Regions from separate parts of the Homo sapiens genome. Here region 2 is linked to region 1. The links are contacts of gene promoters, found by promoter capture Hi-C in human tissues and cell types (Jung and others, 2019). All regions are on one chromosome and are shown on one strand. The core of a region is centred on a gene start or on the middle of the fragment in contact, and the rest is flanking DNA. Distances in the headings are between cores, read along the strand shown.

Region 1 (2,886 bases), core at 136-2,635:
TAATAATAATAATTTAAAAAAAGGCCGGGCACCGTGACTCACGCCTGTAATCTCAGCACTTTGGGAGGCCGAGGCGGGTGGATCACGAGGTCAGGAGATCGAGACCATCCTGGCTAACACAGTGAAACCCCATCTGTACTAAAAATACAAAAAATTAGCCGGCCATGGTGACGGGCGCCTGTAGTCCCGGCTACTCGGGAGGCTGAGGCATGAACCCGGGAGGCAGTGAGCCGAGATTGGGCCACTGCACTCCAACCTGGGCGACAGAGTGAGACTCCGTCTCAATAATAAAAATATCGACCTTTTAAAAGGAAGAGGATGAGGCACAAAATATAAAGAGTTTACTCTAGAGGCTAACGTGGAAGGATCACTTGAGGTCAGAAGTTTGAGAACAGCCTGGGCAACACACTGTGAGCTCCACAGCAAAAATTAGCCGGGTGTGGTGGTGCAGGCCTGTGGTCCCTGTTACTCCAGAGGCTGAGGCGGGAGGATGGCTTGAGTCCAGGAGGTCAAGGCTGCACTGAGCTGTGACCGCACCACCGCACTCCAGCCTGGGCGACAGAAGGAGACCCTGTCTCAAAATAAATAAATAAATGACCCAGAAGGTGGGGACAGGGTGGGGGCTGATGTAAAGCTGTCAAGAATTCTCTTTGGTTTATGGAAATACCATTGATTAGTGATGGGCTGTGCCCTGGTGCGGGTACAGGGTCCGGGCGGCTATTTGGCTAATTCACAGCTATCTGCGTAGTAGCCGGCAGTTTCCAGAGGCGACCCTCCTGTACTGTCTCTGGGGCCTGATCGTTGAAGAGGACTCGCCTTCTGTTCTTTTCTCATTAGGCGGGAGGACCCTCTGGGGCTGCCTGGAGGAAGCCTCCACTCCGACCCTCGCCCGAGTGCCTACTGCGAGGGCGGATGCATGCTTCGGGACTTCTAATTTCATCCTTCACGTCTTTAGCCGCCGCCTATGGCAAGGAAAGGCCTGCCCTCGCCCCTGCCTCCCTCCTCCCTTCCCCACCGCGGCTCCGTCACGATCGGCGCGGGCGACCGGGCCTGGGGGAGCCCCTCCAGCCGGCTCCTGCCCTCAGGCCCCGGGCGCTTCCCTCGCCCCGACTCCCGGGCCCGAGGTCCCGGGGGCGGCCATTCGCCTCCCAAGCACTCGGCGCTCAGCCCAACGGGGCCGCCTTTGCAGTCGCGTGGGCAGAACGGGGTCCTCAGGGCCGCGGCGATTCTCTAGGGCGGGCGGCGCCACGACCCGCCGGGAGCGCGGCTCCCAGGAGCCCCCGCGCGACCGGGCCTCGGTGGTTGCCGTTGCAGGTCACATGGTCGCCGTCGCTCATCACGTGGCCCCGTCGCGCGTCACGTGGCCGCCGGCGCGGGTCACGAGAACAAACACGGGGGCAGCCGGCGCTTCCCGGCCGGTGTCGCTCCGCGGCGGGCCATGGCCAACGTCTCTAAGAAGGTGTCCTGGTCCGGCCGGGACCGGGACGACGAGGAGGCGGCGCCGCTGCTGCGGAGGACGGCGCGGCCCGGCGGGGGGACGCCGCTGCTGAACGGGGCTGGGCCTGGGGCTGCGCGCCAGGTGAGGCCGGGCAGGGCGCAGGCGGGGAAACTGAGCCCTCGTGCGCCCCGCAGCCCGCGCCCTCGTGAGCCTTCTGGCGGCGCCGCGTGTCTCGGTCCTGGAGGCGACCGAGGCGCGGTGGACTCGGGAACGCGCCCCGGGGCTCCTCGGCGGGGCCGGGCTGGCGGGGGCGCCTGGGGTCTGGAGTCTTCGGAGGCCGCGCCGGGCTCGGTGGCCGGGAGGGCTGCGTGGGCGAGGCGGAGCTCGCCAGACCCCGCGGAATGTGGGGCGCTGAGGGGCGCCGGGGCAGCCGTGGCGCACGTTCATTCCCTCCGGTGTCCCCCAGACTGGCCCTAAAGGGGTGCAAGTGGCTTTCTGTTCAGGTGACTTTTAAAAATTGTCATCCTACACGAGCAACTAATTTTGTTTGCGTTTTTGACCCCCTGGGAGATGGAAACAGTTAAGATTGCAGCCGGGTCACTGTCTTTCAGTGAGAATGACTGAGCGCCTTTATCTGCCATCTTTCTGTGTGGGGATCAGTCCCGACTTTCAGGTGATCTTGGGAGTGACGAGTATTTGTACTCAGTCTCCCTTCGCACCGAGTTGAATTTGCAATGTGCAGGCAAACACAATAAGCAGCAAGTCAGAGGTTGGAATGCGTTCCGCATGTCACCCTGCAGCGTGCGTCTGAGCAGTGTTAAGGTCTGGAGAACCGTTGCGGGTACATTTGTTTCCCTGTCTGTGTATTGTCTTAATATTTTTTTTTTTTTGAGACGGAGTTTCACTGTAGTTGCCCAGGCTGGAGTGCAATGGCGCGATCTCGGCTCACTGCAACCCCCACCTCCCGAGTTTAAGTGACTCTCCTGCCTCAGCCTCCTGAGTAGCTGGAATTACAGGCGTGCGCCACCGCGCCCGGCTAATTTTGTATTTTTAGTAGAGACGGGGTTCCTCCGTGTTGGTCAGGCTGGCCTCGAACTCCCGACCTCACGTGATCCCCCGCACCTCAGCCTCCCAAAGTGCTGGGATTACAGGCGTGAGCCACTGCGCCTGGCCGTATTGTGTTACTTTTGAGTTAATGGACCGTTTTGTTGATGGGTCTTAATCTGCTTTGCAGTTATTCTTTACATTTTCTCTTGTCTAGTCCTTTAAACACTTGTCTTGTGCTTAAAGATTAGGAAGGACGGCAGGGCACGGTGGCTCACATCTGTAATCCCAGCACTTTGGGAGGCCGAGGCGGGTGGATCATGAGGTCAGGAGATTGAGACCATCCTGGCTAATATGGTGAAACCCCGTCTCTACTAAAAATACAAAAAATTAGCCAGGCGTGG
Region 2 (2,886 bases), core at 264-2,763, 85 kb before region 1:
AAGTGCCTTATTACTACTTCACAAGAAAGGTACGAAGCCACGACATCCGCACAGGTGTCTTCTGATCTCTCCCCTTGCCTGGCTGGGCTCTTGCAAGCGTCCCAGGGAGCTGAAATGTGAGTTAGCCCTCGTGGCTCTGCCGGGCTTCCCTCTCCGTAGACAGCATCAGCCATCCAGTCTCACTTGTCGCCTGAAATTCCAGCAAACACTGCGGTCTGTCTGGGGAGAATTGGAAGTGGTTTTGCTCTCAGGATAGAGAGAACTCGTGCTAATGAGTGCTGTCTCCGGGTGAAGGAGCTCTCGGGCAGGACTCAGGACTCTGCACCCTTCCCCCTTGCCTTTTCCCCGAATGCTGAACACCTTTTTAGCTTTTCTGTCTTTCTAAAATTCTAGCTGCCTTCTTAAAATTATGCATTTCTATATTCACTGTAGGGATCTTAGGAACTACAAAGAATGAAGTAAAGACCCAAATAGTACAAATCTCCATAATCCCAGCCTGGAGGCAGCCACTGTGGGCAGGCTGGTGGCTCCTTTCAGTAGGGTTCTGGCTTCTGGACACCCGTCCGTGTGTGACTCATGCATGGACGTGTTTTTAAATTACTGAGAGAATGGGATCGTCATCAGTACACACACCCCAGTAGGTTCTTTTGAACAAGTTATTTCCTTCTCTGCGACTTGGTCCCCGTGTCTCCAAGGTCCCTTTTGGACCTGAAACAGTCATTCTCTGCTTCTGAGAGGGCGTGCTGATCAAAGGATCTGCAGCTTCTCTGCAGAACAGCAGCCCATGTGTGCCCCACGAGCATTCTGAGACACGGTGGAGTGCCTGGCTCTGAGAGAGCTGCTCCCCTCGCTTCACTGACCTGTTGTTCTCAGCCTCTGGGAGCATCCCGAGTCACGTGTGGGGATTTTTCAGAGAGGAGCCTGGCTGACCTAAGGCTCAGACTCACGTCCCAGCTGGCGCCGGCCTGTGAGCCCCACAGGGGTTCTGCAGGCGGGAGGCAGGGGGCCACCAGCTTCCACCTTTCGGGACCTAGGATGCCACCAGCTGCTGCTGCTTTTATTTCTGTGAAACATGGAAGCTTCTCTCCTGTTACACACTCCGTCAGCAAACAACACGCACAGAGTCTTCTCTGCCTCTTCCTGTTTACTGTCAAATCAGAGGAAGGACTAAACCCTGTAGACTCGGACCTGGATTGCTTTTGAATTTCCACATGCAGTGGCTTATCGATGTTAAGAATGAACTCTGTACTTTTCTAATTTTCTTCAGTAAGCCTGTGTTACTTTTATAACCCAAGGTGGGTCGAGGGAGCATTTAAACTGGGACAGAGGGAGCGTAGACCCCAGAGGGACATTCCGAGAAGGGGAAGGACAGGCAGCCCTGCATGGCCACAGAAGCCAACACAGATGCTACTGCACCAGCAGCCACCACGGTGGACCGCGGGCGCACCGGCTCCACACACACCCCTGAGCTGGCATTCACCTTCATAGGACCTGGCATAAAGGACACGGTGGTGGTGGGGTGGGGCACTGCCTAACTTGTGACAATGACGTGACCAGGTGTGTGCTGGCCTCTGGTCCTCGGGCTCTGCTGGAACCTTGTGTGCAGTGATGAATTAACAGCATTCACACAAACGCGAACCTGGGTGCGGTTGGCGGCCGTGTTCCTGGTCACCATGTAGAGCCAGGCTGCACAGCCAGCAGAGGCCGGCGTGGTGCTGGTTTATGCGTCACACTGTTCCCTGCGGTGGAGGCAGTCTGGCTTCATGAAGACTGGGAAAGCATCGTGTGATTCGCCAAATGGAGGGCTCCCTGCTCTGTCAATGCATGTTTCCTTAATTCCCGTATTTTAATAGACAAGTGTCACCAGATTGGCGTTCCTCCGAATTTCATGCTGGCTTTACGTTTCTTATGTGCTTTAATTTCTCTTTTATTTCAGAACTCAAAGCATTAACAATGTTTTACATTATTTCTGTTGAGTTTTTCCCCATTAATTTTGCATGGTGGCGTTTGTGTCTTGCACACACTCATGCATCTGTTCTTTTCTCTCTCATTTCTCACCTTCCCGCATGCGTCCACTCCTCATAGTTGTTGTTCCAGAGAGCAGGCGTGTATGACGCAGTCGTAAGTACAGACGCCCAGGTCGTGTGTCATTTGCTTCACCGGGTTGTTTTCCTGAGATCCTTTTCCTCCCTTATTTTCAGTACAATTGTCTGTGCACCGATACTTTCTGCTTACCTTGCATGTTCGCTTTACCGAGGTCTATTGGAAGCCTGAGACACTCAGTGTCAGCTCTCTTTATTTGAGCAGGATGCCTCTCACCTAGCAAAGCTCATCAGGAGCCAGCTGTGGTCATGGCTGGGACATGTGACACAGCAGCTCTTTCCTCTGCTGTGTGGGACACAGGAAGTACTTAGTTTACCTACATTTGCAATAGAGGGAGTTTTCGTAACTCAGCCATTCAAGTCTAGTGAGGACTAGCCATGACGTCTTTTGTCTGTTAACGCTGCCCTTGTTCACATTTTCAAACGGCTCGGCCTAGTTTCTCCGAGGTATGAGGGTGGATCCGGGTCCAGCAGCTCTTAGGACCCTGCCTCTGCACCGTGTGACTGGTCAGCTGTGACGTGGGATAGACAGTCCCTCCCTCACAGAGCTGTGAGCAGGACATGGTGAATGATGAGAATTCCCATTCACACAGCGAACTGGGTACCCATTCTGTCCACACCAAGCTGACATTGTTATCAGAGGTCAGGGCGCTTCCTTGCAGTTTATTAAACCAGAGCAGGCAGGAATTCCCTGTTGTTTTTGTGCGTGTACGTTTTCTGACAGTTTCCACTCAAGGCAGAAGCAGTCCAAACCCTTCAGCACTCAGCACCCTGCAGATGGGCC

The links. Contacts are between HindIII fragments. The study calls those that stand out against the background at their distance.
Region 2: a contact is called between a fragment that was not itself captured here and the fragment with the promoter of CLCN7 in region 1, in 3 of the 25 tissues and cell types used here (IMR-90 fibroblasts, aorta and small bowel).

Annotation. Positions count from the first base shown.
Region 1 is chr16:1,473,527-1,476,412 of GRCh38, reverse strand. It overlaps CLCN7 (chloride voltage-gated channel 7), which reads left to right and starts at 1,385. Exons shown (of 25, transcript NM_001287.6): 1 at 1,385-1,579. The coding sequence starts at 1,439. RefSeq lists silencers at 963-1,312, 1,433-1,642 and an enhancer at 882-1,425. The HindIII fragment of the contact is 17,994 bases long and covers 1-2,886 here.
Region 2 is chr16:1,559,128-1,562,013 of GRCh38, reverse strand. IFT140 (intraflagellar transport 140) reads left to right here. Exons shown (of 31, transcript NM_014714.4): 18 at 1-29. Among named protein-coding and RNA genes, the nearest start is that of TMEM204, 27 kb to the right of the region's middle. RefSeq lists an enhancer at 1-209 and a silencer at 2,176-2,361. The HindIII fragment of the contact is 9,348 bases long and covers 1-2,886 here.